7 separate regions of the Homo sapiens genome follow, and regions 1, 3, 4, 5, 6 and 7 are each linked to region 2. Evidence: promoter capture Hi-C in 16 types of primary human blood cells and fetal thymus (Javierre and others, 2016). All regions are on one chromosome and are shown on one strand. The core of a region is centred on a gene start or on the middle of the fragment in contact, and the rest is flanking DNA. Distances in the headings are between cores, read along the strand shown.

Region 1 (3,254 bases), core at 471-2,970, 400 kb after region 2:
CTCAAAAAAAAAAAAAAAAAAAAAATTAGCTGGAGAACTTTAAAAACATCAATGCCCAGACCCCTCTTGCAACTGATTCTAATGGAACTGGGATGAGATCTAAGCATCCAGTTTTAAATTCCCCAGTGATTTCCCCCCTCACCCCTACCTATGATTCTAATAATGCAACCAGCGTTGAGAAGGCTTACTAAAAACAGATTGCCAGGCCCCACATCCAAAGTTTCTGATTCAGCAGATCAGCATAGGAGCTGAGAATGTGAATTTTTACCAAGTTCCCAAGTATTGCTGATGCTGCTGGTCTGAGACCTTACTTAGAGAACCTCTGTTTTAGAGAAATTAATCTCACAAATAGAAGCTTATGATCCAGAAAGTAGAAGTCATACTGGTGATCCCATTTTAAGGATCATTAGGCCAATTTGTAAGGAAATACCAATTACAAAAGGGTCACAACATCTAAGTTACCCTTACTGTCTTCAAGGGGACAGAATATGCAGAATAGAAAGGAGATCCTGTGTGATGGAGTTAGTATTTTATTTTTATTGACTGATTGACACAGGGTCTTTCTCTGTCACCCAGGAGTGCAGTGGCGCAATCAGAGCTCACTGTAGCCCCAACTTCCTGGGCTTGAGCCACCCTCCTGCCTCAGCGTCCCAAAGTGCTGGGATTACAGGCGTGAGCCATCACACGCAGCCAGAATTGCTATTTAGAAAACAGGTCTATAAGGAAATCTTGATCAGAACTATTATGAACTTTTAAAATCCACACTCCATCAGGCTTCCCTACACACCTCTCACTCTCATCAGCAGCTTTTTCAGCTTCTTCCAGCTTTTGCAGGGCAGTGGCCAGGCGCTCCTGAGCACGGTCCAGCTCTTCTTCAACCAGCTGGATCCTACGGTTCAAGGAGGCCACCTCAGCCTCAGCCTGCATTTGAAGGAAAGAATGGACAAGGGAAGCAGAGGCATGGAGAAAAGAAGAAATAACTATGACATTAAGATCAGGGTTGACTACCATGAAAAAGCCAGAGTCTCGCAGGGTAGAACTTGTCTTAGCTCAGCTGTTAAAAGATCTAGCAGACATAACTTTATATATATATATTTCCTCCCTTTCCCATCAACGAACTCCCATATGTTCCACAGGAAGAGTGTTTTAAAACTCAGTTCCTTGCCCAGCCCAGTGAGTTAGTACCACCCACTTCCTGGACTCAGTTCAAATTCCTCAACACACTGGAGTCAGAAAAGAAAGTCAATGAAGGGTTCCTTCTGCCTGAGCTCTGGCTTGGAGGCATGTCTCATCCTCAGTAACCTTTCAAGTGTCTCATAAAGCAGGAAAAAAAAAAAAAAAAAAGCAAGGTTTCTTAAAGAGGGTATCCTGACTGGGTGTGGTGGCTCATGCCTGTAATCCCAGTATTCTGGGAGGCTGGGGCGGGTGGATCATGAGGTCAGGAATTTGAGACCAGCCTGGCCAATATGGTGAAACCCTGACTCTAATAAAAAATACAAAAATTAGCCAGGTGTGGTGGCGCGTACCTCTAGTCCCAGCTACTCGGGAGGCTGAGGCAGAAGAATCCCTTGAACCCGGGAGGCAGAGGTTGTACTGAGCTGAGATTGCGCCACTACACTCCAGCCTGGGCAACACGGTGAAACTCCATTTCAAAAAAAAAAAAAAAAAAAGAGGGAATCCTGGATTACCTATTAATTGCTGCTTAACTCAAACCGTTATTCCTATGATCACTTTACCCTAACACATCAGAAGAATAACTAGCCAAGGGAATGTCTTCCAGAATAGCCTTCCAGACTGGAAAGCAAAAGAATGGAATATTGTTGGGATGCCTACTCACCAGCCCTTCAACTTGTGCCCCCGTACTCCTTTTTTAAGTTGGCTACAAGGAGCTGCTTCTGGCTAAAATTATCTGCTTTGATAGCTTTACAAAAAAGAAAGAACATTTCCACCACACCCACTACCATTCCTCCAAATTTCTGAATTTTCTCCTTTCTATTCCTCCAGCCATCCCCTTAGCTTCACCCTCTAATACAGCGACAATCTTCCCCCTGGCCTCCATCTCACAATGAAGTATATAGGTTAGAGTCCAAGTAAACCCATCCTGGATGGGTTTTCTCTAAGAAACAAGGAAAGAAGGAGGCAGCCTGCAGGTGGATGGATAAATTCTAATGGTAGGAAAACCTCTTTCCATGACTGCCTCCCCGCTACCTTTACTGGTGGGAGGTACCCTGACTGCAACAGTATACAAGAATTTAATATGCCCCGCACACCACCCAGTTCAGATGCTTATCCAAGTGCCTGGTAAACACGATCTCTCTTCTATAGCCCAGATTGTGCCTGAATTCTATTACCCTGATTTCTTCCTGGCAGGCAGGAGTTGGTGCAGCTATAGAAACAGCCTGGGCCACTAGCTCCGATGAGGAAGAATATAGACCAAAAGACTCCTTTTTAACCATCAGGACTGGCACAAAAACTTCCACATACAAACATGAGAAGCTGAAGAGACTAGGAAGGGAAGCAGAGGGCTGGGGCTACAATCTAGCCACCAGGCAAAGAAAATCGAGAAGTCAACATAAGCTGAAATCATTAAGAAACCATTTGTGCCTCTAACTACACTACTCAAAACACCACAAAGACAAGTATTCTCTGCTTCTGCCTCTTCCAGAAAAATAGATGTTCTCTGTAACAACACACATTTCTCCTCACAAACCCAACAAGGCCATGGATCAAGAGCAAGTCAGGCTATCAGGCAAGACCTAGGAGACACTGCTAGTAAAATGACTTACCCCCCTCAGACGAAAAATACAACTAGATTTAGAGGAAGCTCATGAAATGTAAGACATCATGCAGCTCACCAGTAGTTACCCAAACTGGAGTAGAAGATAACAGGCTATGGGGCGGGGGTGTACAGTTGCCATGACAGCAAGCTGGCTCAGGCAGTTTCTCCCACAAATCAGCATTTACAATAGAATTCTTAGCAAGGCTGAAAAGGGAGAGGGGGAAAACACATCTTGGTGCCCTCCTAAGAGCATGCACACATGAACAAGCCTGTATCAAAAGCAGAACCTGAGATGGGAGTCCTAGAAAAAGCTTCAGAGACCCCCTCCAGGGTGGAGTGGTAGGGAATGGGACCTTGCCTTTCTCTTTTCTCCTAGCACAGAGGATCAGTTCTCTTTACAATGAAACAAAAGCCTGCAGAATCAAGATCTGATACTTTGTTTAAAGGAACAAGGAAGACAAGCTGACTTTTCCCT
Region 2 (3,060 bases), core at 62-2,561:
CTGCTGGCATTTGCCCCGTGCATGTATAGCTTGGTCTTGATTTGATTGGCACCCCTACTTGTAACCGCAGAACATCCCCCTTTCCCTTCCTGTTCTGCCCCCACTTTTGTCTAGAGCAGAAGGGACTTGGCTTTGGCCACTACCCATCCTTCCTGCTGCCACTGGAGGTGGGAGCCAGGCACTGATCTGTCTATGCAGAACCATCCCCCGTAGGATGAGGCCTGTCCTTACTCATTTCTCAAGAAACAAGATGCTTCCAAAAGGTCTGTCATCCTCCAGTTGAAGTCTGTGTGCCTACCAAGAATGGCCGGAGGACTCGCTGCTTGACGGGAGGGATGCTCCAGCTTGGTCTCCAGGGACAACTGTACCTGGAGATAAAGTCTGGATACCAGGGAGGGACAGAGATGCTCTTCCTTCCACAGTGTGGCCACTTGCTGGGCCATGTGAACCAGCAGAGGAGAGTTCCTTGGCTATGCTGTTGTTCCCCCGCTGTCCAGGGAGAATGGAGGTGGACTGAGGAGTGAAGTTTGGGCGAACTGCACAGAGCTGCTCCTCTTCACCCCGAAAATTTGTCTTTTTACAGAATCCAGGTTCTCCCCTCCCTCATCACTGCTGTTGCTTCCTTTGAAAGTCTAAACCACTGGAGGCTTCTTTTTCCTTCCTCTCTCCTTCCCCAGTTTCCTCTGTCCCAATTAAAACCAGGATGGAGAGCATTTGCTGGCTGGCCCCAATTATTGTACCCTTGCCCAAAGGGAGGGGCCTCTGTCGTGACCCCTCAGAAATCTGGCAGTCTGGGTTTCCACCTTTCCCCTATTTAACTCTCAGCCCCCACCCATCCCCTGGGGTTGCGGCTGGCAGGCCGGGACTTGCAGAACCAAATGGGCCAGGGGCCAAGTTCATTCTTTTGGGAGAGAGCAATGGTACCTTCCCTTAACGGGAAAACGAGAAATATTGAGGGGAAGATGGACTGCGATCCAAACGCCCTGGCTCTCAGGCCTGGACTCTAGGGCTTAGCCAGATGCCTAAACCGCCCAAGCCGAGAAACAACTTAGAAGACAGACATAACCCTGGGATTCAGGGAAGGCGCGAGCACCGCCCAGGACCTGGTAGGGTGCGAGCCGCGAGCAGTCCGGGAGGGAGCGCGCCTAGGGCGGAGCGTAGGCTGTGGGGGGAGGGCTGGGAGTCCGGGGCCGCCCCACACCCGCACTCCTCCCGGGTTTCTGCTCTCCGCCCGTGTGGAGTGGTGGGGGCCTGGGTGGGAATGGGCGTGTGCCAGCGCACGCGCGCTCCCTGGAAGGAGAAGTCTCAGCTAGAACGAGCGGCCCTAGGTTTTCGGAAGGGAGGATCAGGGATGTTTGCGAGCGGCTGGAACCAGACGGTGCCGATAGAGGAAGCGGGCTCCATGGCTGCCCTCCTGCTGCTGCCCCTGCTGCTGTTGCTACCGCTGCTGCTGCTGAAGCTACACCTCTGGCCGCAGTTGCGCTGGCTTCCGGCGGACTTGGCCTTTGCGGTGCGAGCTCTGTGCTGCAAAAGGGCTCTTCGAGCTCGCGCCCTGGCCGCGGCTGCCGCCGACCCGGAAGGTCCCGAGGGGGGCTGCAGCCTGGCCTGGCGCCTCGCGGAACTGGCCCAGCAGCGCGCCGCGCACACCTTTCTCATTCACGGCTCGCGGCGCTTTAGCTACTCAGAGGCGGAGCGCGAGAGTAACAGGGCTGCACGCGCCTTCCTACGTGCGCTAGGCTGGGACTGGGGACCCGACGGCGGCGACAGCGGCGAGGGGAGCGCTGGAGAAGGCGAGCGGGCAGCGCCGGGAGCCGGAGATGCAGCGGCCGGAAGCGGCGCGGAGTTTGCCGGAGGGGACGGTGCCGCCAGAGGTGGAGGAGCCGCCGCCCCTCTGTCACCTGGAGCAACTGTGGCGCTGCTCCTCCCCGCTGGCCCAGAGTTTCTGTGGCTCTGGTTCGGGCTGGCCAAGGCCGGCCTGCGCACTGCCTTTGTGCCCACCGCCCTGCGCCGGGGCCCCCTGCTGCACTGCCTCCGCAGCTGCGGCGCGCGCGCGCTGGTGCTGGCGCCAGGTAAGGCTGGAGCTCCGAACTGACTAAGGCGGGGCCAGCCACAGAAGGGGGCGTGTCGGAGACCACAGAAAGGCTTGGTCTCATCCCTGGGCCTGGGAAGAAGCCGACTATCCCTTGGGGTTCGAAAGTGGGTGGAGATAGGAGTCTCCGGGTTTGAGAAGGGATGAGGCTGAATCTTTGGTGCCCCAAGGATCCCCAAGGAGTCGAGTTCCAGGCCTCAGACCCAAGATGGAATGTCCATACCCTTCACCCTCATCCAAGAGCAGTGTGGGCTGGGATAGGGAGGGGACATGGGTCATAGGCTCTTCTAGGTAGAGCCAGGGCCCCGGCGTTGTGCTTTCCCACCCTTCTAGAGTTTCTGGAGTCCCTGGAGCCGGACCTGCCCGCCCTGAGAGCCATGGGGCTCCACCTGTGGGCTGCAGGCCCAGGAACCCACCCTGCTGGAATTAGCGATTTGCTGGCTGAAGTGTCCGCTGAAGTGGATGGGCCAGTGCCAGGATACCTCTCTTCCCCCCAGAGCATAACAGACACGTGCCTGTACATCTTCACCTCTGGCACCACGGGTGAGGGCCGGGCACCATACTTAGCTCCCCGAAACCAAGGCAGAGGAAGGCAGGGGTCTGCTCCCAGACCACTCCTTCAAAGCCCCCAGAGAGGATGCTGATTTCATTGGCACATCCTTTTTCTCCCCATCATTTCACTCCCCAGTCTCCTCACCTCCTACTCATTTCTCCACCTCCCCCAGACCACCCATATTTCCAGGACAGCCTGGTCTCGGTCCTCAGCTTCTGTCCTGCCTCCGCCTCTTTCTGTGGGAAACCCAGCGGGGGTGCAAACAGATAGGTAGAGCTTGGAGTTTGCCCTTCCCCTGATCGTCCCATAACTGCCACCCCACAGGCCTCCCCAAGGCTGCTCGGATCAGTCATCTGAAGATCCTGCAATGCCAGGGCTTCTATCAGCTGTGTGGTGTCCACCAGGAAGATGTGATCTA
Region 3 (3,160 bases), core at 239-2,738, 460 kb after region 2:
CCAGGGCCCTGCTAGTCAGGACCTAGGAACCATTATATTATCCTTTTGCTTTTCTTGCCGTCGTCTGTTCTGAGACCTTGACATCTCTTGCATGTGGCCTTTTCTACCAACTGCCACCAGTCTGGCATGAGATTACCCTGTAGTCATTTATAAAGTTAAATTTGACTTGCAGCTCTCCATTAAGGCACATTACCATTCCCTGAGAAACATGTTCCCATCCTTCCAGCTCATTTTCTCTTCGTTGTTTTTTTAATTCCCAATACCATATTACATACCATTTATATATTTGTATATATCCTGTTGACTGTGCTCTGGCCATCTGTGGTTTGGTTTTTTTGTTGTTGTTGTTGTTTTAATTTTTATTTTTATTTCAGTTCGAGGTCAGGAAAATGGATTGGATGGCACCAAGAGTGGAGGGCCTTCTGGAAGAGGAACAGAAAGAGGCAGAAGGGGCCGTGGCCGAGGCAGAGGTGATCAGTTTGTTGGGGGATGGATATTGGGGGCAGGTTACTCTTTATTCATTAATGGTCTGCTTTATTTTTTTTTTTTATTGGAGGTAGTCTCACTCTCACCCAGGCCGGAGTGCAGTGGCACAGTCATAGCTCACTGCAGCCTCAGACTCCTGGGCTCAAGTGATCCTCCTGCCTCAGCCTCCCTAGTAGCTAAGACTACAGGTGGCCGCCAGTATGCCTGGCTAATTTTTTTTGAGATGGAGTCTCGCACTGTCACCCAGGCTGGAGTGCAGTGGCGCGATCTTGGCTCACTGCAACCTCTGCCTCCCGGGTTCAAGCGATTCTTCTGCCTCAGTCTCCCAAGTAGCTGGGATTACAAGCGTGCGTCACTACGCCCAGCTAATTTTTGTATTTTTAGTAGAGATGGGCTTTCACTACATTGGCCAGGCTGGCCTCGAACTCCTGACCTAAAGTGATGCGCCCGCCTCGCTAATTTTTAAATGCTTTTGTAGAGATGGAGTCTCAATATGTTGCCCAGGGTGGTCTCAAACTCCTGGCTTCAAGAGATCTTCCTGCTTGGCCTCTCCAAGTGCTGAGGTTATAGGTGTGAGAGACAGCACTTGGCTCCAGGGTCTACTTTGTTTAAAAACAAATTAACATGAAGTCTAGTTAGTTAATTCCTGAGGTGTCATGCATATACTAGAGATTGCAGAAGGGGAGAGTGAGAAAGAAGGTAGATGTCATTTCCTCTAGTCTTTATTGCTAGTATTGTATTTGCTTGAGGACATGGTAGTCTGAGAGCAAAAGAAAAATCTCTCAACAGTAATGATTGTCCTACTCTATTACTGATGTGTAACATGGGACAGAGAGAAAGAACATCTGATAGTATCAACCACTTTTTATTCCAGAGCTGCCTCAGCTGGCAGGGTAGTTTTTTGTATTTTTGAGGCAAGGTTTCACTGTCACCCAGGCTGGAGTGCAGTAGTGCGGTCTTAGCTCACTGTAGCCTCTGCCTCCTGGATTCAAGTGATCCTCCTGCCTCAGCCCCTCAAGGAGCTGGGACTATAGGTGTGTGCCACCACACTCAGCAAATTTTTGTACTTTTTATAGAGATAGGGTTTTGCTCTATTGCCTAGGCTGGTCTCGAACTTCTGGATGCAACCAATCCGCCCGCCCTCAGCCTTTCAAAGTGCTGGGATTACCACCGGGAGCCACTGTGCCTGCCTGGCAAGGAAGTTTTATATCAACTTCTAAAATACATCTCTCTTCTCTTTTTCTCATTCTTTCTTTAGGTGGCTCTGGTAGGCGAGGAGGAAGGTTTTCTGCTCAAGGAATGGGGTAAGTTTCATTGATCTAGTGTCTTAATTTTTTTTCCCTTAAAAATTACTGTAGGCAGCCTTAACCAAAATGATCAGAATGATTTCTAGACTGGTCAGAAAGATATGGGGACTTAGGGCTCATTTCTTAGGGATAAACCTTTACCACCTGGATCATTACCTATATTTTATATATCTTTATTTGAATCAATATACCTGTTCTTTTCTCAGAATATCTTAGATATATGTTGAGATTATACCATGAAATTTTGGGTAGAGTGATAAGTGAGAAAAAGTAGATGACACACAGGATTATAGAATGGGGCCATGACAGATTTGTACTAGGAAGGATGCAGTCAAGATTTTGATTCTTTGAGTTAATATTTGCCAAAGCTGCTTAGAGGTCAGAGACTCTTAAGTTTTATTTTTTCCAGAACCTTTAACCCAGCTGATTATGCAGAGCCAGCCAATACTGATGATAACTATGGCAATAGCAGCGGCAATACGTGGAACAACACTGGCCACTTTGAACCAGATGATGGGACGAGTGAGTGACCATTTATCATTCATTTCTTGTCTCTGGGAATCTAAGGAAATAGTTTTTTCTGATTATACTTACATTAAAACGTGGAAGAATAGTGTTTGGTTATGGAGATAGGGTGAGAAAGGGCTGGCAGTTGTATTACTGTGTGTACTGTTTATGTAACGTGCATATGGGCACATTACACATGTTATTTCGCTTAATGCTGCTTGATATTGTATGAAATAATCATTATTTATCATCACTTTCCAGATGACAAAACTAAGGCCGAAAGAGAGGTTATAAATTTGCTAGTATTTGAACTCAGCATTGTTTGACCCTGAAAGTCCATGCCCTTTCAACTATGCTATGTCACTGCTATTAGGTCCAAGTGTATTTTCTAGTGTTTATGTTAGGGTAGTGTTGCCTTTTGAAAAGATAGCCAGAATTAATCAAGCCACTGCTTGTAAAGATGAACAAGGCCTAGAATCAAAGTCCACACTATCCATTTATTTGTTTTCTGTTACTGAGATAAGAATATCCTTTTTTTCCCTTTATTTTTGGGACATGTCAGTATCTGAACAAGAAGATTTCGAAATCTCTCTAGCCTTTCTGGTGCCCTGTTGAACAGCCTTCTTGGTGTGATGGAGTATTCAGGGTTTGAATAAGATTACTTTTTTGTTAACTGACTTTGGTGCCTGCGTCTGGGCTGGATATAAATGTTTAAGGATATGTTAAGCTGTGGTATACACCTAAGATGTGTTTGGGGGTGGATACGTGTGCCACTTTCAATAAGAGCAGTTCATTTTAGTAAGAAAACTCTGGAGTGCTTTCTTGAACAGCTGCCTCATTCTGGCTGAGCTAACACATGA
Region 4 (3,145 bases), core at 227-2,726, 480 kb after region 2:
TTTTTAATCTTTGCAGTTTTGGAAAAAATACTAAACTGAGGCCAACCCATCTATTGTGTATCTGCTTTGGTTTATGGTGCACACATGTATGCATGTGTGTGTGTGCGTACAATGTGTATGTATATGTGTGATGAGAATATCTGCCCTGTTTGAAACACAGCTTCTGGGCCTCAGAAGCCAAAGGCCAGAATGTTCATCTGGAATCCTTTTTGGTTTCTTAGATAATTATGACTATTATTTTATTTTTTGAGGCAGATCTTGCTCTTTTACCCAGGTTGGAGTACAGTGGAACGATCATAGCTAGCTCACTGCAGCCTTGAACTCCTGGGCTCAAGCAATCCTCTCACCTCAGACTCCCCAAGTAGCTAGGACTACAGGTGTGCATCCCCATGCCTGGCTAAGTTTTAAAAATTTTTTTAGAGACAGGGTCTTCCTATGTTGCCTAGGCTGGTCTCAAAATCCCAGGTTCAGACAGTCCTCCTGCCTCAGCCTCTCAAATAACTGGGGTTATATATAGGCCTGAGCCACTACTCCTGGCCCCAAGAATTATTTTCTCTGATTTGATTAAATCCCTAACTCTGAGTGTGTTTGCTGGTCTGGCCTGGTTAGAGGAAAGTTTCCTGACTCAATCTGGGACTTTGAGAATAAGTGGCTGACATTAGTAGCTTTTTGCCCTAGTGTATCTTCTGTGACCTTCAAGTATTTGGTACCTATTAAGATGAAGGATATATGGAAACGTTTTAGAAGATACCTGTTCCTGCCCTCATAGACAAAGTCTAGATAAATTTCATACCGATGACACATCCAAATAACACAGTTACACATTTTTAATTTGTGGTCACTACCTTAAAACCCTGACATTGGAGAAAAGTGAAGTATTCTTTCCAGAGGAGATTATTTTTAAGCCAGATTTTGAAGAGTATAAGAGACAGAGACTTGTAGAATAGAGAGTAAAACTGGTTGTTCGTGTATGTTTTGTGTCTACTCTATTGGTATCAAGAAGCCAGCCTACTAGAATCAGTAGTATTTAGCTCAAGGAAAGCTTCAAGACCTTTCATGAATCATTTAATCTCTGTGTACTTTACTGCTTTTTCCTTAAATAAAATTGAAGGAAATAATCCGTGTCCTGTTCTAACCCAGAATGAGGATGAATGTTCTGTTGAATTAGCTTGTCTCTTGGCTCCTTGTTTTGCTAACATCATGACCAGTTCCTGTTATTGCTATATGTCTGTATCTTTCAGCCACAAGTATATGGTTATGATGACTTGCAGATGCTTCAGACAAGATTTCCATTGGTGAGTATGTGGGATAGAGCTTTGGAAAAGAAAGTAGTCTTAAAATTAGTGTTGGGAGAATTATCTCCGTCACAGACATAGCTCTTTCCCATCCCAGCCCTCCATACACTCTGATTTAAGGCATATTAGAATATAGGGATTTGGGGGAGGGTTTCCAACAGAAGATAACTTTTTTTTTTGAGACAGAGTCTTTCTCTGTCGCTCAAGCTGGAGTGCAGTGGTGTGATCTTGGCTCATTGCAACCTCCGCCGCCTGGGTTAAAGCAATTGTCTGCCTCAGCCTTCCGAGTAGCTGGGATTAAAGGTGCCCACCACCACCCCCAGCTAATTTTTTTTGTATTTTTAGTAGAGGCGGGGTTTCACCATCTTGGCCAAGCTGGTCTTGAACTCCTGACCTTATGATCCACCCGCCTCTGCCTCCCTAAGTGCTGAGCTTATAGGCATGAGCCGCCGCACCCAGCCTTTTTTTTTTCTTTTTTTAAATCAGAGTTGTGGCATCTTAGTAAATACATTTTAACCTATTCTATAGCCCAGTAAAGTACTCTGGAGCACTCAGGGTGCTTTCTGTTTGTCCCAGACACTTTAAATTATCGAATGATCTGTTTTCTCAGTAGAATAAGCTTGGTATAAACTGATAGGGATGACACCTAGAGGGTTGAAAATATTGGTCCTCGTGGACTTTGATGTATTCTCAAGTGGGCATACCCGTAGACCTTGTCTGACTGTGCTCATGGCCAGGCAGGGGGGACAGTGTATGCAAGAGTAATGTGGAGTTTGTGCTAACTCTAGCCAGCTTAATTAGTGACTGGATAAATTGCACAACTCTCACATTCTTCTGTTTTTTCCTCCGTGGAAATAGTACTCATGCTGGGGAATGAGTGACATTGAATCTCTGCTCTTTTTTCCCCTCTTTTCTAGGATTACTACAGCATCCCATTTCCCACACCCACTACTCCGCTGACTGGGAGGGATGGTAGCCTGGCCAGCAACCCTTATTCTGGTAGGATTGGGATGGGACTAAATAAATAAAAAGGGAGATAGTGTTGGGATTGATGGCAGACACCTGATTGGTAGCAAGAAGGGATGTGATAAATCAGGATTGGTAGATTCAAAATCCTGCTAAAGTTGGGCATGTCATGGCTTTTCCTATTCATCCCACTTTGTGTTGTCTCCCTGTGATTTCTAGATGATATCTTAGCCAGGCATGGTAGCACACACTTGTAGTCTCAGCTACTTGGGAGGCCAAGGTGGGAGAATTGCTTGAGCCCAGGAGTTCAAGACCAGCCTGGGCAACATAGCAAGACCCCATCTCCAAAAAAAGTGATATCTTGACTTAGTTTCAAGCCATTTGCTAGCTTTTTCCAGGAAATACAGTGGTTGAGGTGGTCTTCTCTGCTCATCTCTGCCCCTTTATGCTACTACTCACAGTGGCAATCTCACTGCCTTGCCACTCCTTCTTTTACCTGACCTATCATTGTCCTCATTGACTTACCGTTTTCCCTGATCCATCGTTGTCCTTCAAGTCCAGCATGGGGTATTCCCCATGGAGGAGAAGAGGGGAGGGAAGAAGAGGGAAGATGAAAGAGAACACAAGTGGGCAGAGAAATTGTGCAGGTGCCTTATTCCAAGAGCCTCCTGCCATAGCATTGCACAGTTATTCAACATTAGTCCTTGACTTGCAGCAACTGTGCTAAGTGTATGCTGAGCAACAATAATTGGAGCCACTAAGAAATGTAATTCAAGGAATTGAACTTTAATAGTCTTTGAACAGGATCTCCTGGAATCATGTGAAATCAGAAGAGGTAATTCTGTATTGGTATTGGGGTGAAAGAGGCAGGTACATTTAGCTTC
Region 5 (3,397 bases), core at 118-2,617, 410 kb before region 2:
TAGAGGGGAGCCGGGGGGCAGGGGTAGAGGGAAGGAGAGAGAAGGAAAGCTTGCTTGGACTAATGCCCAAGCTGAGTTTTCAGAGGGCAAGAATTGCACTTCCATGTGCCCAGTGCTGTGTTAGGCAATAAAAGAAATCAGAGAAACATAGGAAGTAAGGGCTCTTGCCCTCCAGATTTTTAGTTTGCTTTATCTTAAAACTTGAAAGGCTTCTTGTGTTGGCCAAGTCAAAATGATGAGACCTAGCCATTCTCACATCAGGGGCTTCTGATAGTCATTTTGTTGAGCCCAGATCCTTCTCCTGAGCTCCAAGAGCCTGATGCACAGGCTGGCATGGCTTGGCTTGTGGTGTACTGGAAGCCTGCCTGAAATATCCTCCTGAGGGCAAAGTATTGCACATATAGCACCCAAAAGAGTGTTATTGGTGTCCTTTATCACTCAGTAATGCCTTTGCCCAGACAGCTTTGTCAGGCTCATCATTCCAGCAGCAGCCAGTGAGCAGAAGAGGGAGGTCAGCCCCAAATTGGAAGGGGCCTAAAGTCTACTCTTGATGGAAATACATGAGGAAGATATGAACAGGTGAGCTCCCTGGAGGATGTGACGGTTGAGTCAGGCCATGGTGTATAAGCAGGTGTTCTAGAGCCAGAGAAGGGCCCAGGTAGCCTAGTGTCTGCAACAGAGCAGACACAAAAAAATGTTTGTGAATGAAGGGATGAAAAGGCACTTCAGACAAAGAGAACAAGAGGACAGCAGGAGCAAAACCCAAGAAGTTTCAAAGCCGTGGAGAAACTAGAGACTGTTCTAGAGTGGCTGGAGAATAGGGCCTCTGGGGGTGGACAGATGGTGACAGTGAGACAGGGCCTCCAGAAGCAACAGGGCCAATCCCTGGGCTCTGTGGATCTAACAGTGCTTGTGTTCATTTGCTTGTTCCACGACACCAGCCACAGTCACAGGGTCTAGTCTCTGTGTATTCATGAAGGGACTGGAGATCACTTGTGCAAACAGCACACTATATACATGAAAAAACTGAGGCTCAGAGAAGGGAAGCCATTCGCCCAAACTCACAGAGCCAAGCAGTTGAGCTGGGAGTCTAACCAAGCTCATTTGATTCCAAGTCAAGGGCCCTTGTCATTGTCCTTAGGTGCCGCTGACTGATGGATTTTGACCAAGGTTAGCAGCCCTTAAAATTTTTCTAGCCATGATTTAAGTTCAATTTGTGGTTCAGTGGGCTATTTGGAAACAAAATTACAGCTGGTGAATGTTTTCACAATAGCAAATGTGCTGGACTTTTGCTCTCATCGGTTAGTTGTTGGTTTTTTTGTTGTTTTTTTTTTTAACAGATTCTAATACTACTATATATATCAGAAGTGGTCCCAAATCAAGGTAAGTGCATCAAGGGAGTGGCCTAGTTTGCAGAACAGCTTGGTCTAGTTCAAAGGCCTTTAGAGGAAGATATTGCATAACTTCCCTTGGTTCCTTATCTTACACTGGTCAACTTTAACTATCCAAGCCACCCCTAAATATAACCTCAGTCTGCTTTGGTTTAAAATAATCTATACCTATTGTGCTGTGGCAGAGGGTGGGTCAGCTACAATCGTTACCTCCTGTCTAAATTATTATCTTACTGTTATTGCTAATGTTTGTTGAGTGCTTACTCTGCATCAGATACTGTGCCAAGTGCTTTCCATGTGCTATGAGATGACCTAATCTTGGCCAGTCGCATGGCTTACGCTTGTAATCCCAGCACTTTGGGAGGCCGAGGCAGGCAGATCACGAGGTCAGGAGATCGAGACCATCCTGGCTAACGCGGTGAAACCCCGTCTCTACTAAAAATACAAAAAAATTAGCCTGGTGTGGTGGCGGGCACCTGTAAACCCATCTACTCGGGAGGCTGAGACAGGAGAATGGCGTGAATCCGGGAGGCGGAGCTTGCAGTGAGCCAAGATCGCGCCACTGCACTCCAGCCTGGGAGACAGAGCAAGACTCCATCTCAAAAAATAAAAAAATAAAAAAAGGAAAAAAAGGAGATGACCTAATCCTCTCACCAACTCTGGGAGAGGGGTGCTGTGGTTATCCCCATGCTACTGATGGGGAAATTGAGGTTTAAAGATTCTAAGTAACTTGTTCAAGGTCTCACAGTTAGTAAGTGGCAATGCTAGGATTTGAATACAGAAGCATAACTTCTAGCCTCACACTCTCGACTGCTACTCTTTAGCACCAAGGGACATCCTCCTTCCTACCCTCTCACTAAGTGATGTTCTCCTTCTAGACCCTGCACCAAGTTCCCCTCTATCCAACTGAGGTCTCTCAGAGCACTAACACTGGGTGACACCTGAGTATTCACCTAGTCTAAAACTTTCCAAAATAGATGTTTAAAATTCCTTTGAATTCTTCAAAAATAAAGAAAACACAGACCCAGAGAGGCAAAGTGATTTGGCCAAGGTCATGCAGTGAGGGAAGGCTTTCCCCAAATGCTCTCACATTCTCATTCACATTTGGTGATAGAAGCCTTCCAGGCTTGGGCCATTCCAGGACTCCCTTCCCTGGGTCACACATTCCTTCCTTTTCTGCCAATCCCACTTCACCCCCATCTTCAGGCTCTCCCCTCAACCCCATCTACAGGCTTCTACTTTCTCGCACACTTTCCACACAACTGCAATTGTTTCCTTTGATGGGGGTGGTCAGCAAAGCTTCACCCCAAGACCATGTGCCCAGGACTCATCATTTGTCACTTGTCCTGAATCCCAGCTTCCCATACACTGTCTCCACATGGCTTCACAGTAAATAAGCCGAAAGTCAAACCCACTCTCCTGCAGTAAAAAGCCCCCTTTCCCACTTTTCCTCACATCTGTCTTGCCTGACCTCCAGCAGGGTATCTAACCTTTCTAAAATTCTTCAATTTTGCCACCTGGCCTGCCCCTGCTGCTGAAGAAGATCCAGAGGTGGAACAGGAATTAAAAGAAATTAAAGAATGTGTAAGCAGAAACTCAGTTGTATGTAAGAAAACCCAATTCCCCCTGAGAAGGAGAAAGAGCTGGAGTCCTTTAAAAATTAACTGCCTGTTTTTCTGTAGCTAGTGAGCCTTATCTTTCCTCCTTTCCCAGGCATTATGAAGACCTGTTTCTCTAGCTATGCAGCTGCAAGGTCACTAGACAAATAAACTCAAGTCATAAAACGTGTTTTTCCTTGAAAAGTAAGAAATGATGTAACGCATGTCTCAATTAATTGAAATCCAGTGTATTACAGTTCTAGTACATCTCACACATATGACCATGTTTCAAGTCCTCAGTAGTCATGTATAGATCGTGGCAACCATATTGGACCCTGAAGCCCTAGATCATTTCAGAAATGGAATGGGGCTGGACTAGGGTGGTGATAATGGTGGTGACAAGGGGTG
Region 6 (3,115 bases), core at 470-2,969, 430 kb before region 2:
GGAGTGCAGTGGCTCAATCTCGGCTCACTACAACCTCTGCCTCCCGGGTTCAAGCAGTTCTCTCATGCCTCCCTCCCGAGTAGTTGGGACTACAGGAGCGCGCCAGATGGAGTTTCACCATGTTGGCCAGGATGGTCTCGATCTCTTGACCTCCTTATCTGCATGCCTCGGCTTCCCAAAGTGCTGGGATTAGAGGCGTGAGCAACTGCGCCCGGCCAAGAGAGAATGGGTTTGTTTTTGTTTGTTTGTTGGTTTGTTTGTTTTTTGAGACAAGTTCTCGCTCTGTCACCCAGGTTGGAGTGCAGTGGCACGATCTCATCTCACTACAACCTCCATCTCCTGGCTTCAAGCAATTCTCCTACCTCAGCCTCCCTCCTGAGTAGCTGGAACTAGAGGCATGTGCCACCACACCCAGCTAATTTTTGTATTTTTAGTAGAGACGTGGTTTCACCATGTTGGCCAGGATGGTCTCGATCTCTTAACCTCGTGATCTGCCCACCTAGGCCTCCCAAAGTGCTGGGATTACAAGCATAAGCCACCACCCCTGGCCAAGAGAGAGTAGTTTTTTTTGTTGTTGTTTGTTTGTTTTTGAGACAAGTTCTTCCTCTGTCACTCAGGCTGGAGTGCAGTGGTGGGATCTCGGCTCACTGCAGCCTTGAACTCCTCAGGCTCAGATGGACAGTAGGTATTTTTTAATTCCTATTATGAGACTTTAGGATCACCCTTCTCGGTTGCTTTTTGGCCCAGGGAAAGAAAACTTACCCCAGGCCTGGATACCCAGAGCAGAGAAGACAAGAAGCCACGGCAGCATCCCCACGTGGTCCCAGGACACCAATCTGGAGAGTGTGGATGGCAGCCTGAGAGAGACGCTGACAGTTGTTAACATGACCATTCTCAATCTGCAGAGCATCCCAAACCCTGACTGCAGTGGGTGCCATCTGCCTCCTCTACCATCCTGTGGCCTCCTGAGGGCCAGCACCTGCTTCAGTCTTCTCAGGGCCCCCAGCATACAGCAGGTGCTCAGCATCCCTGTCCTATTATTACCCGAGGAACTCAATTTCATCACGTGCCCACGGCGTGCAAGGCTGTGTACACACTTGCACATGCAGTCTTATTTAATTAGTCCTCACACTAATCCTGTCATGTAAGACTGTTAACCCCCATTTTTACAGACAAAGGAAGTAAGATCCAAGAATGGTACAACCGAGAAATCCAGACTCATATGGATGGGTCTTATGCAGAGAATCCCTTCCCAGCTGGGAATATGCCAGATGAGGGAGATATAGGAGTAGGAGGGGTTCCTAGTTCTAGGGCAGAGGAAATCCAATCCTTAACACTCTTTCTGGTGGATTCCAGTCCCTTTGCTGGAAGAGGGCTTCTGAAGAAGAAACACATACTCAACTCACAGATATCTGTGGGTCCTGTGCTGTCCCAGCCCAGCAGGTCAGGGTGCAGTCAGCTTGCCCCTGATTGGCCAGCAGCTCCTTCCCTTCCAGACTTGGCCTCCAGGCCCTGCCCTTCTTCACCAACTGGCGCCTTCTCCTCCAGCCTTCACTCTCCCTAGCCCTAGAGGGCACTCCCTCCCTGGGAATGGAGCACTCGGGCTCTAGCTTCCCAGAGAGAAGAGAGCCCAGGATCCCTAACAAAAGATGGGGAGAAGGGAAGACAGAGGGCAAGGCTCTGAGCCAGCTCCTTTCACAGCACCTGGAGAAATGCAAGTGGGACCAGACTCAGGCTGAGAGCACCTGGGGACCCGCCCTGTGAATAAGCCCAGGTAGCTCCTCCCTGGGAAAGGGCAAGATTGCCCAACACTCCCGAGAGCTCGTCCTCAGCCCCAACCTGGGAAAGCCTGCAGGGCCTGAGGGTTGTGTCTGCAACATCTAGAAACTTCCTGCCTGTGAAGTTCTGCTCCAGGAGCCTGAAGACTGTGGATTGAAGTCACTCACCAACACCACCTTTTACCAGGGTCATGAGCAGGGTCAGGATGGACAGAGAGAAACTGGGAGGTACAATCTCAGGAAACAGCTCACGATGCCTAATTCTGCCCCAATAGCTTACATGTCTGCCCATCATCCTCCCGCCTGCCACTCCCCACCGTCGGCATCAAGCTGCCACCTACCACAGAAAGCCTCCCACAAACCAAGAATCTCCAGCTCCTCGCCATGTTCCAGTTGTCACCTAATCTCATTCCACATTCTGCAACCTGGACTTACAGCCCTTGAGTCTTCACAGAGGAAACTCTGCATGACACTTTCCAAGAACGCAGTAGGATGCAGTCTCCACGGGGACCTGCAGAGCCTCTCATGTCCCGGAGGGTGGGGCAGCCTCCCTAGACACTTAGGAAGTGCCCTGAATCCAGAACAGTTGCTCTCAGTGAGCTGCAGTCCCACTCTCAGACTGGGCTCCCCAGGAGCGCTCTCTGGATGGGGCCCATTGAGCATGCGCCAGGTCTACCTGGCATTCATCCCAGTCATGCACCCAGACCCAGGCTGGAGCTGTGTGATGAGCAGGGGCTGCTGAGCTCTGTCCTGGGGTGAGGGTGAATGTGGGGCAGAGCCAGAGACAGAGATGAAGGAGACCAAGAACTGCAGCCTGGGACCAGCACTGTAGGGACCCTGGTAGTTTCCCCAGCCTGGCAACATGCTGTTTCTCCATGCCTTTTGCTGGCCGCCCATCCTAAATAAGTAGAACAGTTCTCAAAATGAGAAGGTTTCTGGGCTTGCATCCGGGGCACCAAGGACTTGAGGAGACTCGGTTCCCCTTTTTGGAGCGGCTTGGGGAGGGGAAGCCCAAGAAGAGATTGGGTGGTGGCTGCCAAAGGGGACCAACAGATTCTCTGCCCCATCCAGAGACCAACAGATTCTTGAGGACTAACAGACTGAGGGCTGTCCGGGACGAGGGCATCGGGAGGGAGGAAGAGAGCAGTGTGGGTTGTCCCTCTCTGATTCTGTGAACTCAGAATCCCGAGAGGACCTCCTAAGTCCTAAATTATCTGGCCCCCAGCCCCATCTCACTCCACGCTGCCAGAGCAGGCTCCCAGTGCTCTCTGCCCCACCTCCCACCATCTCAAGACCCTTCCCAAGTGCCCAGCCTCGCTCCCCACCTGCGCCCAGAG
Region 7 (3,159 bases), core at 214-2,713, 430 kb after region 2:
TTTACACCTCCAACAATAACCCTGGGCCTAGGAGTTGATTGGCCACCTGGCCTGTTGCCCCAGAAACCTTGAGAGAATCCTTGTTCTGCAGCCTTCTGTTGGTGACACAGGCATCTATGAGCAAGGGCCACAGTCCTGATTTTAGGATTTCTTGTGCTAGGGTCCCAAGGAGTATGTGTATGGTCGTAGGTCCAGGGTATGCACACAGTCCCACCAATTCTCTGGAGGCAAATCCTCATGCCCTATACCCTGTTAGAAATGTGCAGATAACATTATCAAATGCCTGTTTTATTAAAAGACAACTATAAAGGACTGATTCATACGTTTTATTTGATAATAGTTCATTTTATTAAATAATTTATAAAGTCAGACCAGTGCATTGGGCTTGTTAGGGGAAACCATTCCTTCCTACTGTCACATAGCCTGGCAGATTATATCAGGTGCCAAAACATTCCCTTTTATTCAATTTATTAATGAGAGTGTGGAATTAAAGTAGATCCTTGCATGTCAGGAAAGCTGCAACACATCTGGTTTAAGTGGAGCACAAAGGTAAGTTATTCCACATTCACCAACTTCCCCACTTGACCTCCCACCAGTTCCTGTCTGCTTTTTCCATCAATCAACTCTAAGATGCCCTAAACCCAAACAGTTCCCATTCAACTGTGCACAAAGGTATAGATATGGAAGACATCTCACTCCAACTCTCACCTTTGGAATTAAATAAACCTGGAACAGGGAAGGTGAACTATGGCTGAAACCAAGTGAAGATTTTTAAGAAGCTTTGACAGAAACATTAAGAATAACACCTGAATGCAAATCCAGAAAAAAGCGCTACTGGGGGAAAATAGTCTTAGCCAATGTTCTAAAAATGCTCATAAGGAAGGGTTGGGGAATTACCCTTTAGACACAAGCTCTAAGAACTCTGGATACAACGGGAACTTGGATGGATACAGTCTGGGCCTGCTGGGCCAGATGTTCCGAGGGCGGCCCGGCAAGCAGCCTGTCTTGCACATTGCAACTGACTGGCTTAATCTACGGCAAGAGTCCTTCAGCTCCGTCACAGAGTACTCTCCAATGTGTTATAGTTATCCTTAAAGCTCTTCAATTCAAGGAAGTGCTTGGCACGTTTACTCTTCTGACTGGAGGGGAGGTATGTCACCTGGATGGTTGTTGGGGAGACCTCAGGGGACTGAGTTAGGTCTTTGGCTGCTGACTGGTGATGTCGCTGAGAGCTCCCAATTCGTGCTTTAACCCTGAAGAACAGAGAGGGGAGGTCATTGACAGAATGAGGACTAATCAAAGAAATCAGGGCTTATCCCAGGCCATAAATGCAGCAATAGTCACAAATAGTTATTTGTGTCCTATCTGTCCTATTTTGTAAACTAGTTACTAAAACCCCATCTAGTAGCTTAGAAATACAAGAGGCTGAGCGCGGTGGCTCACGCCTGTAATCCCAGCACTTTGGGAGGCCCAGGCAGGTGGATTGTTTGAGGTCAGGAGTTCGAGACCAGCCTGGCCAACATGGTGAAACCCTGTCTCTACTAAAAATACAAAAATTAGCTGGGAGTGGTGGCGGGTGCCTGTAATCCCAGCTACTCGGGAGGCTGAGGCAAGAGAATCACTTGAACCCAGGAGGCAGAGGTTGCAAGCCAAGATTGCGCCACTGCACTTCAGCCTGGGTGACAGAGCAAGACTCCATCTCAAAAAAAAAAAAAGTAGCAGAGAGGCTGGGCATGGTCACTTATACCTGTAATCCCAGCACTTCAGGAGGCAGAGGCCAGAGATCGCTTGAGCCCAGGGGAGTTTGAGACCAGTCTGGGAAACAAAGTGAGACCCTATCTCTGCAAAAAATTAGCCAGGTATGGTGGCAAGCACCTGTAGTCCTGGTTCCTCAGGAGGCTGAGGCAGGAGGATCGCTTGAACCCAGAATTCGAGGCTGCAGTGAGCCATGAATGTGCCACTGCACTCCAGTCTGGGCGACAGACTGAGACCCTGTCTCTCTCTCTCACACACACCCTAAAAAAGTAGCAGCACTCCAGCCTGGGTGACAGAATAAAGGCCCTGTTTGGGTACCCTGACACACACCTACTCATACCAAAAACAACTAGCAGCAGAGAAACCAATTTCCCAGAGTTCTTGCCTCTGGCTCAAGCTTTTTTTTCAGAGACAGGTATCCCCAATATAGGTATCACCTTGTTTTGCAGATTAGGAAACTAAGGGTCCAATAATTAGCTTGTATGAGGTCACAAAACTAGTTAAGTGACAGACCTGGGATTCAAACCTAAGTTTGTCAGATTTCAAAGCCTATACTCTTCACTAAACCCAATGAACATTCCTAGAAACTACAAATCAAACATAATTTTTTGTTTTTGAGATGGAGTCTTTTTCTCTGTTGCTCAGGCTGGAGTGCAGTGGCACAATCTTGGCTCACTGCAACCTCTGCCTCCTAGGTTGAAGCGACCTGTCTCGGCCTCCCGAGTAGCTGGGGATTGCAGGTGCATACCACAATGCCCAGCCAATTTTTCTATTTTTAGTAGAGACAGGGTTTCACCATGTTGGCCAGGCTGGTCTTGAACTCCTGACCTCAGGTGATCCACCCGCCTCAGCCTCCCAAAGTGCTGGGATTACAGCCGTGAGCCACCATGCCTGGCCTTCAGAAATAATTTTTAAAAAGATTGTGGTAAAATACATGTAACATAAAATTTACCATCTTAAGAATTTTTAAATGTATGGTTCAGTAGTGTTAAGTATATTCACAGTGTTGTGCAACCAACCTCCACATTTTCATCTTGCAAAACTGAAACTATACCCAGTGAACAACTCCCTATTTCCCCCACTCTCCAGCCCCTGCAACCATCATTCTACTTTCTGTCTCTGAGTTTGACTACCTAGGTATCTCATATAACTGGAATCATCTAGTATTTATCTTTCAAAGAAAGTGAATTTTGAACAGGCTTCTGCTGACTTCTAGACCAAATGCCCTTTTCCAGCCTTTCTACATGTTCATTTTCATCAGTGCTCTAAGCAGTTTTTTTTTTTTTTTTTTTTGAGACAGTGTCTCACTCTGTTGCCCAGGTTAGAGGGCAGTGGCATGATCTTGGCTCACTGCAACCTCTGCCTCCCAGGCACAAGTGGTACACGCACCTCAGCTCCTGAGTA

Evidence for each region. The method cuts DNA at HindIII sites, captures the fragments that hold promoters and counts their contacts. A CHiCAGO score of 5 or more calls a contact.
Region 1: a fragment that was not itself captured here is called in contact with the fragment with the promoter of SLC27A3 in region 2 in 3 of 17 cell types (M0 macrophages, M1 macrophages and total B cells); the score reaches 7.9 in M0 macrophages.
Region 3: a fragment that was not itself captured here is called in contact with the fragment with the promoter of SLC27A3 in region 2 in 1 of 17 cell types (naive B cells); the score reaches 6.5 in naive B cells.
Region 4: a fragment that was not itself captured here is called in contact with the fragment with the promoter of SLC27A3 in region 2 in 1 of 17 cell types (naive B cells); the score reaches 5.1 in naive B cells.
Region 5: a fragment that was not itself captured here is called in contact with the fragment with the promoter of SLC27A3 in region 2 in 1 of 17 cell types (neutrophils); the score reaches 5.0 in neutrophils.
Region 6: a contact is called between the fragment with the promoter of PGLYRP4 here and the fragment with the promoter of SLC27A3 in region 2, in 1 of 17 cell types (neutrophils). The highest score is 6.9, in neutrophils.
Region 7: a fragment that was not itself captured here is called in contact with the fragment with the promoter of SLC27A3 in region 2 in 1 of 17 cell types (naive CD8 T cells); the score reaches 5.0 in naive CD8 T cells.

What each region holds. Positions count from the first base shown.
Region 1 is chr1:154,175,328-154,178,581 of GRCh38, forward strand. TPM3 (tropomyosin 3) reads right to left here. Exons shown (of 10, transcript NM_152263.4): 3 at 788-921. Among named protein-coding and RNA genes, the nearest start is that of TPM3, 15 kb to the right of the region's middle. The HindIII fragment of the contact is 2,735 bases long and covers 354-3,088 here.
Region 2 is chr1:153,774,096-153,777,155 of GRCh38, forward strand. SLC27A3 (solute carrier family 27 member 3) reads left to right here and starts at 1,312. Exons shown (of 10, transcript NM_024330.4): 1 at 1,312-2,069; 2 at 2,423-2,632; 3 at 2,967-3,060. The coding sequence starts at 1,403. INTS3 (integrator complex subunit 3) reads left to right here. Exons shown (of 30, transcript NM_023015.5): 30 at 1-713. RefSeq lists an enhancer at 1,713-2,379 and a silencer at 1,748-1,939. The HindIII fragment of the contact is 7,576 bases long and covers 1-3,060 here.
Region 3 is chr1:154,234,822-154,237,981 of GRCh38, forward strand. UBAP2L (ubiquitin associated protein 2 like) reads left to right here. Exons shown (of 27, transcript NM_014847.4): 6 at 375-470; 7 at 1,745-1,790; 8 at 2,203-2,315. Among named protein-coding and RNA genes, the nearest start is that of UBAP2L, 15 kb to the left of the region's middle. The HindIII fragment of the contact is 7,636 bases long and covers 1-3,160 here.
Region 4 is chr1:154,257,736-154,260,880 of GRCh38, forward strand. It overlaps UBAP2L (ubiquitin associated protein 2 like), which reads left to right. Exons shown (of 27, transcript NM_014847.4): 21 at 1,242-1,295; 22 at 2,213-2,294. It overlaps SNORA58B (small nucleolar RNA, H/ACA box 58B), which reads left to right and starts at 1,992; the gene lies at 1,992-2,127. The HindIII fragment of the contact is 872 bases long and covers 1,041-1,912 here.
Region 5 is chr1:153,367,203-153,370,599 of GRCh38, forward strand. No RefSeq gene overlaps it. Among named protein-coding and RNA genes, the nearest start is that of S100A12, 6.7 kb to the right of the region's middle. The HindIII fragment of the contact is 2,641 bases long and covers 48-2,688 here.
Region 6 is chr1:153,347,122-153,350,236 of GRCh38, forward strand. PGLYRP4 (peptidoglycan recognition protein 4) reads right to left here and starts at 1,720. Exons shown (of 9, transcript NM_020393.4): 1 at 1,407-1,720; 2 at 763-857. The coding sequence starts at 811. The HindIII fragment of the contact is 10,086 bases long and covers 1-3,115 here.
Region 7 is chr1:154,206,396-154,209,554 of GRCh38, forward strand. LTAP1 (lipid transport auxiliary protein 1) reads right to left here. Exons shown (of 7, transcript NM_001098616.3): 7 at 325-1,253. The coding sequence ends at 1,058. Among named protein-coding and RNA genes, the nearest start is that of CFAP141, 1.6 kb to the left of the region's middle. The HindIII fragment of the contact is 1,373 bases long and covers 778-2,150 here.